Linked DNA regions of Homo sapiens: region 1 is linked to region 2. Evidence: promoter capture Hi-C in human tissues and cell types (Jung and others, 2019). All regions are on one chromosome and are shown on one strand. Each heading gives the region's core, a stretch centred on a gene start or on the middle of the fragment in contact. The rest is flanking DNA. Distances are from core to core; before and after follow the strand shown.

What was found. The method cuts DNA at HindIII sites, captures the fragments that hold promoters and counts their contacts. A contact is called where the count stands out against the background at its distance.
Region 1: a contact is called between a fragment that was not itself captured here and the fragment with the promoter of SLC4A4 in region 2, in 1 of the 25 tissues and cell types used here (lymphoblastoid cells).

The regions. Positions count from the first base shown.
Region 1 is chr4:72,285,456-72,291,216 of GRCh38, reverse strand. ADAMTS3 (ADAM metallopeptidase with thrombospondin type 1 motif 3) reads left to right here. Exons shown (of 22, transcript NM_014243.3): 20 at 155-362; 21 at 2,349-2,466. Among named protein-coding and RNA genes, the nearest start is that of NPFFR2, 260 kb to the right of the region's middle. The HindIII fragment of the contact is 7,779 bases long and covers 7-5,761 here.
Region 2 is chr4:71,183,064-71,189,598 of GRCh38, reverse strand. SLC4A4 (solute carrier family 4 member 4) reads right to left here and starts at 2,340. Exons shown (of 26, transcript NM_001098484.3): 1 at 2,198-2,340. It overlaps LOC124900712 (a long non-coding RNA gene), which reads left to right and starts at 3,075. Exons shown (of 2, transcript XR_007058133.1): 1 at 3,075-5,018; 2 at 5,144-5,911. The HindIII fragment of the contact is 14,418 bases long and covers 1-6,508 here.

The DNA of each region.
Region 1 (5,761 bases), core at 2,647-5,146, 1.1 Mb before region 2:
TTATATCCATCTTTCTGAAACCACTTCCTGAACTGCAGTGTGCCCACTAGGTTGCAAGTCACTTAGAGAGCAGAAAAGTCTAGGCTTTGCAGGTAGAAATGTGTACACTATACATACCAGTGATAATTGCAATATTAAATCCCCGCACCCACAGCTGGGTAGCAGAAGAATGGGAACACTGCACCAAAACCTGTGGAAGTTCTGGCTATCAGCTTCGCACTGTACGCTGCCTTCAGCCACTCCTTGATGGCACCAACCGCTCTGTGCACAGCAAATACTGCATGGGTGACCGTCCCGAGAGCCGCCGGCCCTGTAACAGAGTGCCCTGCCCTGCACAGTGGAAAACAGGACCCTGGAGTGAGGTAGGTGTGTGAATTCCGTGCATGCATAAGTAAAGTGTGTGTGTAAGCATGTGTAGATATTTTAATTTGGCTTAAACATCAGTTAGGCTTTGTGTGAACTGAGAAACTACTGCATATTTTGTAATTACCTGGAGGTGTTAGGAAAAATTAATGCTTTAAGACAGTACATGTTAGGGGCAAACCATGTTTATGTGTTTCATAACATAGAGAAGAAGTCTGAAAGATGACTGTTCTTTTGTCTAATATTTTTGTTGACTTCCCTATTCCTTCAGTATAAATTCCAAACCCCTGATATTGAATGCAGGGCCCAGCACCATTTGGCACTGCACTAACTCCTCTTATTCTTTCTTCATTCCAACTCTTTGTCCCAGTTCGAGTAAACTTCACACTGTTCCAAACAGACCATGCTTGTTTGAGCCTCCTACCTTTCAGCTGACTTGTACTCCCCCTCCTCCTACCTGATAATCTCTCCTTCTCCACCAAACCTCATCTCCGTAGTCCAAATGACCACCTTCCAGGTGGTACCTTTCCTGGCAGTTCCTCCTGTATATCTGAAATGCAGTACAACTTAACTTTACCATGCTGTTCATGACAGAGTATTATAACTCTGATTCTTGAATCTATATTTGCCACTAGTACACACATTTCTCAAAAATAGTATGCCTTGTTTCCTCAGCACTCAGCTAGTGCCTAGCATACCTGTCCAGATGATGTTTGTTTGCTAATTGGCTGACTCAATGTTGCATTGTCAGCTATTACCACCTGTCTTAGATATTTCTAAAGACTCAAAATAAGAAATCTTGGGGTCATAGGAGAATAGTTTATAGGAGGAAAGGGCATGAAAAAGCAGACAGAAGACTAAAGAGTAAGTGGAGAATAAGCCCAGAAAGGAAGAAACAAGCAAGTTGTCTTATCTATTTCTTGCTGCTTTAACAGAATTCCACAGATTGGGTAATTTATAAAGAACAAAAGTTTATTTGGCATATGGTTCTGGAGGCTGCAGAGTCCAAGAGTATGGCACTGGCATCTGGAGAGGGTCTTCCTGTAGCTGAAGGCATCACATGGCAAGGAGGCATGCAAGAGAGACACAGAGGATCCTTCTATCAGTAGCCCATTCCTGCAATAACTAACCCATTCCCAAGATAATAGCATTAACCCATGCCCATAAATCACCTCAGAAAGGTCCCACCTCTTAAAGGTCCCTCTCAACATTGTTACAATGGCAGTTAAATTTCAACCTGAGTTTTGGAGGGGACATTCAAACCATAGTACAAGTGCAGGTCACCCACATAGGATGATAATGATAACACATATCAAAGTCTCAGTAGAAGTCCCTCCTCCACAGCACCTTCCTAGGGCCATTACATGGAACTTTCTGAGCTTAGTTTTAGAGCAGTAAACCTTTTCATTAGAGAAATGAACTTAAGAGCACAGAGAAATAGTAGTTCCAAGGATGTTGAATTAACCATCCAAGGCAACTTATCAGTAAATTCTGCTATCTGTAAGAAAGAAGTGAGGACTGTCAATACTATGATTGGGTCCCTGAGAACAGACATCATCAACATTGTATTTAGAAACTACAGCAGATGTTACCATTGTTATTAATCATGGCTTCTTTCATATGATATGCTTACTAGGTGTCAGGAATTTTGTTACTGCTTTATACACTTTGTTCCTTTGCCTTCATTTAGTCCTAAAACAATCTTATAAGACAGGTATTATTATCCCAGCTTTCCACTAGATAAGGAAGGTGAATCTTATGTAGAAAAAACAATGCTCCCAGGCTGGTAAATAATGGAGTCAGAATATAAACTCAGTAGTATCTGTCTTCAAAACCACTGTGCAGCATTACTTAATAGAGAACCCACTCCAGATCTCTGTGTCTTTGTGTGTGTGTGTGTGTGTGTGTGTGTGTGTGTGTGTGTGTGTGTATGTGCATGGTCTTGGTGCAATAAATGTCTGTAACCACAGCCTTTGTCTCTGCAGTGTTCAGTGACCTGCGGTGAAGGAACGGAGGTGAGGCAGGTCCTCTGCAGGGCTGGGGACCACTGTGATGGTGAAAAGCCTGAGTCGGTCAGAGCCTGTCAACTGCCTCCTTGTAATGGTAGGTGTCACACCAATTGACTTCACTGCTCTGATGTTTTTAAACCTCAAAAAGCAGAATTTCCTTTTGAGAGAAGTTATAGAATTTATATTTGTTTACTGATAAATAACCAAAGGAAAACACCTGTGAAATATTAGTCCAGTTCAGTTCTTTAAGATCAGCATTTGAGGTAATGTCCTACACTTTTTAATTATCATGATCACTATAGCCCTGCCATTTCTGGCTGGTGGCATTGGAGTGAGGGCTGTGCCATGTATATGTAACGTCTATCAATTTGTGTTGCTAATAGGAACCACTTAATTTTTCCTTGTTATATTTAACTATAACTTCACATCTTTATTAAAAGCATAATTTTGCAAAGATTTTGAAATATTTTACTAAAATTATTCAATTTTGATCTGTGGGTAATGTTACTCAACCCTAAAGCCATTTCCAATAACTGTCTGTCCATAGAGTAACTTCAAACAGACACCTTGCACATAGGATAAAATTCAGCATTTGCCTGACCTGCCAACTTGCTGTATGGCAAAAGCAGAGTATATTTTCTTTATTTAGTCAATTTGCTATTTTAAAACAGCAAAATGGGGCCAGGTGCGGTGGCTCATGCCTGTAATCCCAGCACTTTGGGAGGCCAAGGTGGGTGAATCACCTGAGGTCAGGAGTTCGAGACCAGCCTGAACAACATGGTAAAACCCTGTCTCTACTAAAAATACAAAAATTAGCTGGGCATGGTGGCGCATGCCTGTAATTTCAGCTACTTGGGAGGCAGAGGCAGGAGAATTGCTTGAACCCAGGAGACAGAGGTTGCAGTGAGCTGAGATCACGCCACTGCATTCCAGCCTGGGTGACAGAGTGAGACTCCATTTCAAAACATAAGTAAATAAAACAAGCAAAATATATTGGATGGTTTTGGGCTCTATCACTGTCTCCTTCTGCCTCCATTTCCATAGCTCTCTATCCACATCTCTGTCTGTCCTGTGCTCGGTCATCTGTGTCTCCATTTGCTGTCCTCTGTCTCTCTCTTATTTTTGGTGTCTGTCTTGCTCTGTCTCTGATGAGCTGTCACCTGCTGCCTGTATGTGGCTCATTTTCTATGTCAGCCACACATGCTTTTTCGAGGCCTTACTCTTTCTTCTTGCTGTCCTTCCCTCTCCCTCTCCTAGTCTCCCTGGCTGTACCTCCTATCATTCTTTTTCCCTCTCATCTTCTCTCTCCTCCTGCCTCTTCCTGGCTCTCTCTTTCCCCTCTTTCCTTGTTCCATGTGTCTGTCTCCCTTTCTCTCCCATTTTCTCTTTCTCGGTGTCCTCCCCTTCACCCTCTCCCTTTCTCTTTCTTTATCCTCCCCTTCCTCTCCAACTTGGTATGTCTGTCTCTGTCTCTCCATCTCTTCCACCTCTCTCTCTCTCCCTGTCTCTTATCTCCTCCACTGCCTTAGTCTGTTCTAGCTGCTATAACAAAATACCTGAGACTGGGTACTTTATTAAAAAAAAATTATTGCTCAGAGTTCTAAGTCTAGAAGCCCATGATCAAGGCATCAGCAGATTTAGTGTCTGGTGAGGGCTTCCTAGATGGTGCCTTGTTTTTCTGTCCACATGTGGTGAAAAGGGCCAGGGAGCTCCCTTGATTCTCTTTTATAAGGGCATGAATTGCATTCATAAGCGCTCCACCCTGATGGCCTAGTCACCTCCCAAAGTCCCCACCCTGTTAGTACCATTGCCGTGAGGATTAGGTTTCAACAAAGGAATTTTGGGGGCACACATTCAGGCCATACCCACCTTTTTCCTCTCCTTCCAGCCTCTTTTTCTCTACTCCTCCATCTTTTACTCCTTGTGTCTGTCTCTTTCTCCTCCTATCTTTCTCTTCCTAGCCCCTCCACTGACATCTTTTTCTCTTCCTGTCTCATTTTCTCTCCCCAAGTCAGTCTCTCGCCACCCCCATCTGTTTGTTGCACTCTCTCTTCCGTTATATTTTCTTCTCCTGCCTTGTTTTCCTAGCCCACCCATCCCCATCCACCACAACCCTTCTCTTAAATGCAGTTCTGCTAAAGCCACGACAGTGACAACTGTGGACGTTGTTTTCACATATTAGAAGACTCAGGCCTAAAGAAGTTGCTTTTTCCTTGGCCTCCAACACCATAAGTAAGACATTGTTTGAATATTGACATCTGCTGAATGGTGCTTTTTGTCAAGAAAATTGGCAAAGCACTATCTTGTCAAATGTTTTATTTTTTGAAGCTCATTTTCAGGCTTTAAGTCTTCAACCCTTATAAATTACTTCATTATAAATTTTCATCTGAAATATATTATAGCAAGAACATATCTGACCATGAGAGGGAGACATAGGACTTATATATTTAATCATTTTACTTTGGAAAGTATTGACATATGTAAGAGCTCAAAATACAAATCAAAACCAAAAGAACAAACTTTACTCAGAAGTTTTAACATATACTGTCACCAGAATATTTTATTCTTATGTAGTTATTCCTGTTAAGAGGCTGCCACTTTGTAAGTAAGCTTTATTGATCTTGGAGCTGGTACAGCTGTGCATTTCTACAGACGTGCCCAATGGTTAGCAAGAATTTTCTTGATTCTCCTTCTTTAGCCAGAAGAAATTGTTTTGAATATAAAACCAGGGAGCTAATAAGATAGCTTAACTATCATAGTGATTTCATATCCCTTTTAGTTGTTCTGTTGTTCTAAAATTGAGGCCCAAAGGGCAATCCTAAGAGTTCTAACGGTCACATGTTTCTACCATATTTGAAGTAAAATAAGTAATACTTTCTATCAGAATCTCAAACTGCTATTAGAATCAAATGGCCTTTTGAGACCATGTGTGAATCTCTTTTCCAGAACCTCTTATAATGATTTGGGGGTGGAACGAGAAGTCTGAAAAGTTGCCTTAATTTTTTTGTAATTGATTGATTTTTTTCATGTGACTCCATATTTTGATTGATTGTACCATTTTTTTTTTTTTTTTTTGCCTGTAAGCTCTTCTCATTTATCAGTAGGCAAATTCCCATAAGGTTAATGTATTCCTTTGCTCTTATTTTTCTCAGAATATCTCTCCCTTTTGCTCCTCCACACAAAAGTAAATTCTGGCCCTAATGAAACCCAGGTTATGAACAGGACTCTGCAATGCCAAAGTGCTCACACTTAGACATGGGAGACCTTTGGTTGGACTCCTTCTCTAACTCAGAGAAAACAGGTCGTACTTCTAAGAGGGGCCTCCTAACAGGGGCGATGAGGGAAAGGGGTTAGAGGAAAAAGAGAGGACAAGATCGAATAATGTCCTC
Region 2 (6,535 bases), core at 1,091-3,590:
GCCAGATATCACTCTTGTTATCGGAACAAGGGATCAGAACCTCAAAACTGTACCTGCCAGCACTCAGCGAAAAATGAGATTACCATCAGGGCCTACTGGAAGTTGTCCCAAAGGTTACCCGATTTCTATCGCATTATTCCTCTAAATCTGATTGCCTTTATTTCTTTCACACAACATTTTTGTAAATCCAAAATGTCTCTTAATCATTTAGAAGACTGAAATCATAGTACTAACATTCAAACATCTAAAATTATTTAATATTGACTACGTGAACTAAAAGAAATACATTAATCTAAACTGAGAGTACATTCTGTCAATCTCATTGGGTAAGGTGTCTAATGTATGTTTTTAAGTCTCCAGAAATGACCCCAAAAGAGCAAATGGCACCAAAACCCTCATTCTGAAGTACACTTAAATCCAAAATGTTGGGGGTTTCTTAGTTTTCAGTTTTTTTAACATGGCTGGGACTATCAAAATATCCCATCTTGTCCTTGTCACCCCCACTCCTACAAATGTTCTCTGCCTCAACAGCTCATAATGTAGTGGTACTGCTTTCCTGTCTCCATCTACATATATGAGAGTTTCTCTGTCATCTTACTTGACAGTGTGGGATACAGTTAAAACAAATCATTCAATTTCAAGATCTACCACAAAGACCAGAATCCTATCAGTACTTTTAACTTTAAAATGAAAGTAAAAGTTTTTTCTCAGCTATAAAAGTTATAGAAAAATAAACAGGCACACTTCCTTTGAATGAAGTTATACTAATATCTTCAGTCTAAGTACTAAAATGACCATGTAAATTATTTACATGCTAATATGAAAGACACAAGAAAGAGAGCTGTAGTCAGAAACGTTTTCAAAAGACATCACATTGGCTATAAAAAGCTACTGAATATTGTTCTAATGGCATTGACGAATCTACTGAAATCACAATGAAAAAAAAAAGCCCAAATGAGCAATGTACACTTTAATTAATTTAATTCAGGTAGTATTACAACTCCAAGTCCCAAGATACAAGAAAAAAGAGAAATACAGTACAACACAGTGTCTCTTAGGAAAGGAACTGCTGCAGGATTTGAGACAATGAGCGTTTAGTACAGCCCAGTGTTCTTGATTTCTCATTAGGAGCAACTTTCCAGGGCACTGAAGCGAACCAGGAAAAGAAATGGGGAGGGTAAGCCAAAGGGGTCGCTGCTCTTCAGTGTCAAGTTGGAAAGAGCTTGCTGCGATCAATTATGCTGAGAAGGTAGGGCCTTGAGAGGGAAGGAAGGATAGAAAAAAACAGTTTTACAGGGCGCTGAAAAAAGTGATAGAAGAGAGGTAGAACTGCTTCCTCCATCTTTCACGTCAAGTTCAAGTTTTTCTTTTTGTTCTATAAGAACTTTTGTCTTTATGGTGCTTGCTGCGGTTTGCTGATGTAGTTCCCAGGTCCTGCCTTCCTCTGGTGACTTATTAACGGACTGGCAACGGCTGAGTAAAATGCACTTAAGAAAAAAGAAATCACCTCTCTTTGCCAAGACTCACATGCTGCCCAGTACCTGAGGGAGAGCTCCGTTGTCGCTGGCCAAGAGAAATTCCAGTTTAACCTATGCCTCCCCTAGCCAAATCCATTGCAAATAAATGTGTGTGTGCCACTTGCAGAGAATCTGCCTGACTCACCCCCCGCCTTTGGCGTGCCAGGGAGAGATGTAAATGCTCCGTCCTGGAGCTGGCAGTGAAGTGGGGGCCGCGGCCTCGGTAGCACCAAGAGTCCCCAAATCTCCCCCTGTGATGGGTTTAGGGATGTGTTCCTCTCAAGCAGGTGCCTGGTCACAGGGCGACCACCCAGGCTCACAGCAACACACGTGTCACTGAGCCCGAGCCCAGCCCGCCGCAGAACTGGCCCCGCAGTCCTCGTAAAGACGCCCAGTTGCGCGCAGGGGACTTAGCAGTGAGGGAGAAGCAGACCACCCAAACTCTTCCTCTAAACCCTAAGAAGGAAAAAAAATACTTTTCCGCGGAAGCAGCCTCCACACACCGCCCGCGCCCAGCTCAGGGGATGCCCGGCCCGCAATTGACCTCTCTCTCCCTCCCAGGAGCGCGCTGAGGCCGCCTGCGCGCCCTACGGAATCGGCCCCCGGGCCCGCGCCCGCCTCCGCCTTGGAGCGAGGGACCCCATCGACCCTCCCGGCAGCTGCCGGGGCCGGGCGCTCACCTCCTGGGGTCTGGCTTCCGTCGCTCCTCCAGTTTGGCGGCGGAGTGTGGGGCTGCAGCGGCCACTGCCACTGCCGCCGCCGCCGCCGCCTTCGCTGCCACCGCGGCCGCCGCCGCCACCGAAGCGCTGCCCGGCGCGCCGCCGGGGTTGGAGGCTGGGGGGCCGCGGAATCCCTGGAGGCGCGAGCCCGGGACGCGGCGGGGCCGAGCCGCGGGAAGTTGTCTGCGCCGGGCGCGGAGCGAGCGGGGCGCCAGTCACCCGCGCCCAAGTAGTCACAACTTTGCCGCCTGGGTGGGTGCGCGCTCCGGAGAGAGGCGAGCGCGGGAGAGCGGGGCAAAGGCGCTGGGGCGGGAGGGTCTTCGGAGCAGGCAGGACTGCAACCTGAACGGCCCGCGAGGAAAGGGGAAAGGTGGCGCGGGGGGATGTCTACACAGCCTGTGTGGTGCGCGGCGAGCGAGTGTGTAAGAGCGCGGGCGTCTACTCTACTTTGCCTCCTGCAGCTCCTGCATATTTATGGGGATCTCTGATGTTCCTGCTAGTAACTAACACTGCAGCAGTGGAGCCCAGCCCAGGCGCCCCTCGGGAGCAAGCCGGGGTGCGGGGGCTCACGGAAGGCGGCCGCGGCGGAGGCTGTGCCGCGAGCGCGAGCCTGCGATCCATATTTAAAGCCGTAAGTGGCCTCGGCCGGCCCCCTGCCCTGCCCTCGCTCGTGCCCGCCAGCCCGGCCCCCACCGCTCCGGGCCGCTGCTCGGCGTCAGCCGCCCGGGCATCGGCGGCGGGGAGGGGCCTCGAGCCGCGCCGCCTCCGCCGGGGGCTTGGGCTCTGTGCGCAGCGCCCGCCCGGAGCTGGCGGAGGACCCGGCTCCGGACCGGCCGCTCTTGCCTCCCAGGTTCCTTTTCTCTCACGCCCTGGGCTGGGTCCTAGGTCCAGCTTTTTGTCCTACTCAAAAGAGTTCCCCAGTGGGGAGAGCCTGTGCTTTCATGCAGAACTAAAATTGCGTGAGTTTCCCAGCTCAGATCACTCTTGACTCTACTTTATAAAACTTGGGGCGTATAGAGTGCTGCCATAACACAGTATTAAGTAATTGTTCACCTTTAACAAAAGATGTCTGAAGATAACGTGGTTGTCAACTGTGTCCTTCACTTATGTCACTGATGCCTTTCTGTCTTCCTTGGGAGTTAGGAAAACAGCCTTAGCAAAGTGATTATTTGTATTTATTCTGTTCCTAAGTCTAATAATGAGGTTCAAGTACTCTTTGCCAAGCAAATAATATATCAGTGATCCAGCACCATTGCCATTGGTAAACTATTGAATCATAAGTAAACCATTAAGATATGAACAGACTGTCAGCACAGACACACCATCTATTGTTCTGGGTACTGCTAGAGAGTAGTCACTTAATGGATTGCAACCACATGGTATATCATGCAAGTGTATATCATTTTCTAGTAATACATATTATATGTAATGTGTATGTGGACATCACTGACCAAACTGTGTTTTCAACAGTAGCCACCAAAATGCATAAAGCTCAAGAGAAATAATTTAACATACCAACTGCTCCTGGTCCCCAGTATTTCTTCAATACAAAGCTATAGCTTATAGGACCTCCAAGAGAAAAAAAAAATGAGGGTAGGGAGGAAATAATTTGAGGACAGAGGCTTTTCTTTCTAGTATTCAAAACTGGAAGAGATCCAGAGATCCATGGTGCCTCACCAGTGCTTGGAAAGCAGGTATGGAGCCTGTGTCTTTTAAAAAGTTTCTATCTTTAAAATCCTTAGTTAATGCTCAGAAGGCACAAGGAAACACGCCAATCTGATGTCTGAAATTAAAATGTACTGTCATGTGTCTGTTGTCACATCTGGCTCACATATATGTTCACACATTCTACATAACCCAGTGCAGTGATATATCACTGGGAATTTTTCATGGGAAACTCAAAACCAAAGATAAAACAAAAATTTAGCTTTAAAGTTTTCACCTAAATGATTATGTTCTGTTTCTAGGCTAATGTTAAAATTAACTTTCACTCCCTGAGCAGGCAGTTAGCAAGAATCAGCAACCGCAAAGTAAGCTAACAGGCAAAGGGAAGTCACTTTTGTATTAAAAATTTGCCATTGCTGTTCAGCAGTTTTTCACACTGTGGATTATGTATTTCAACATAGCTGGCAATTTCTCATTATAATCGTGAAGCAGCCATGAACACTCAGTGCTGGTGAATAAGAAAGAAAAAGTCCAAGAAACACATTTTTCAAGCATTCTGCTGCAAAATATATCAAACTTTCCTTCACGTAAGTTAAATAGGTAACTCCTGAAGGCATTTCAGTACAAAGATTGGCAAGAATTTACCCTAAAAGGAGCATAAAGTTGGTTTGTGGGGTGGGAGGCAGGGAGACAATGAGAGTACTATAGAGGTGAGATTTGGTATGTGTCTTAAATTAATGAGAAAAAGAGTCTTTGGCAAAGCGTTGACAACCTCTGTTATCATTTTCATTACTTGATGTTTGCTATCCCACAATTAAAAGAGTGTTCTATTTCCTTTCCTATTGATTAGTGTCCAGTAGTTGAGATATACGTGTTTTCCTTTGAAAGGTCATTGATTAATTTTTCTTATAAACTCTGCATGTGATCACTTTCGATTGCTTTTCCGGGTGATAACAATGAATCCTGAGATTTTTGTTCACCTCTCCTAAAACTTGTGCCATGTCTCTTGATTCTCATAAGCACAAAGAAAGATTTATTAGTTCTTTTTGTCTTGGGGTTCACACAGCTTGGTGACAAGAAGAATGAGCAGAAAAACTGATGGAATTAGAAAAATGGTGTAAGTAAGCTTTACTGATAATGATTTGTTTACTTTTTAATCAACAACTCTCTGTACTAAAGGACTTCTTAGAATACCAGCCCAGTACTTAGCTTATTAATCAAATTTCTTTCGTATCATCCAAGGTCCTAATAGGCATCTAAAGAAAACAGAAAGGAGGAAGGACCTTTGTTTCGATGACAAGCACCATCTAGTGGCAGCAGGTGATGACGACATAATGTCTCTAAGAAGAATGAAGATGAAAGTTTTCGAATAGGTAGTCCAGGCATTTCTGGTCGCTTATAGGCATGACATTCTTTGATTCTAAAACAAGAAGTTGTATGTAGTAGAATAATGCAATTGATCGGCCCTGCGTTGATTATTGAAAGTAAGGTGCCGATGTGACCTGCAGATAGGATTATTAGCATAGAATTTTCTCAGTATTTGTGTGACTGACTAGGTCCTTAAAGACTCTGTATTTAAGTTTCCTCATTACATAAAATAGGAAGAGTGATGGCTTGTCACCATATGTTGTCTGTAAAGCACTGTGTTCAACAAAGAGCAGAATCCATAAATATAACTATTATATTTGGATTTTTTCACTATTGGGAAAAAAGGTGAAAAATATTGTTGGATGTTTCTCCTGGAGTTATACAAAATTATAACATTCATAGGCATTTCATATTGGGGCCTAAACAGAAAGGTGGTAGGAGATAACATTATAGCTTGTTACTATAAACGTCAAAGACTGATCAGAGATGTTTGTCAATATCAAGTCCTTTTTAAATAGGTGGTTCATTGGCGAAAGTCTGACCAACATGTTGCTACACAGAATAGAGATTTTCTTTGTGCTGATATTTGTTTGGACTTGTAGTTGTTTGCAACAGAATGATCATTAAAGTTGTCACTCTGTATCAATTTTGTTAACCACTTCATTGTGTAAGAGTAAGAAATGAGAAAAAGCAACTTTTGTTCTTCTCATTCTAAAACCAATCTGGGATGAAAGATAGATAGATATAGATCGATAGATAATAGGTCACCAAAGGCCTCATTTTTGTTTCACTTACACTCCAAGAGTATTCATATTCAGTCTGGCAAATTCTTGAATACATTCAACTAATCTAGATTTATAATTAACATTCTCTTCCTCAAACCCCAGGTTTAAAAATACCTGTAGCCCCTTTTTATGAGGAGAGAATGAAGGTGAACACAGTTTTTGGAAGCTGTCAGCACAGCATGAGCTGGGGAAAATAATTTTATTTGGTTAAACGTGTGTCCCAAGTTGCTTCACAGCTTTAGCAACTGAGCTCTCAACCATATCCAACTGTCGTTTTTAAAACACATGCCTAAAGTCAACTATCAGTAGAGGGTTCTAACTTCTGAAAACAGGAGCTTATCTCAGTTAATGTCAAGGAAGGCAGGTTATTCAATCTGAGTCTCAGTTCCCACAGCATTAAAATCAAGGAGCTTAAGATAATACCCCAAAATTCAGCAATTCCAACAGGATACCAGAATGATTTCCTCTAATAAAATTGAAC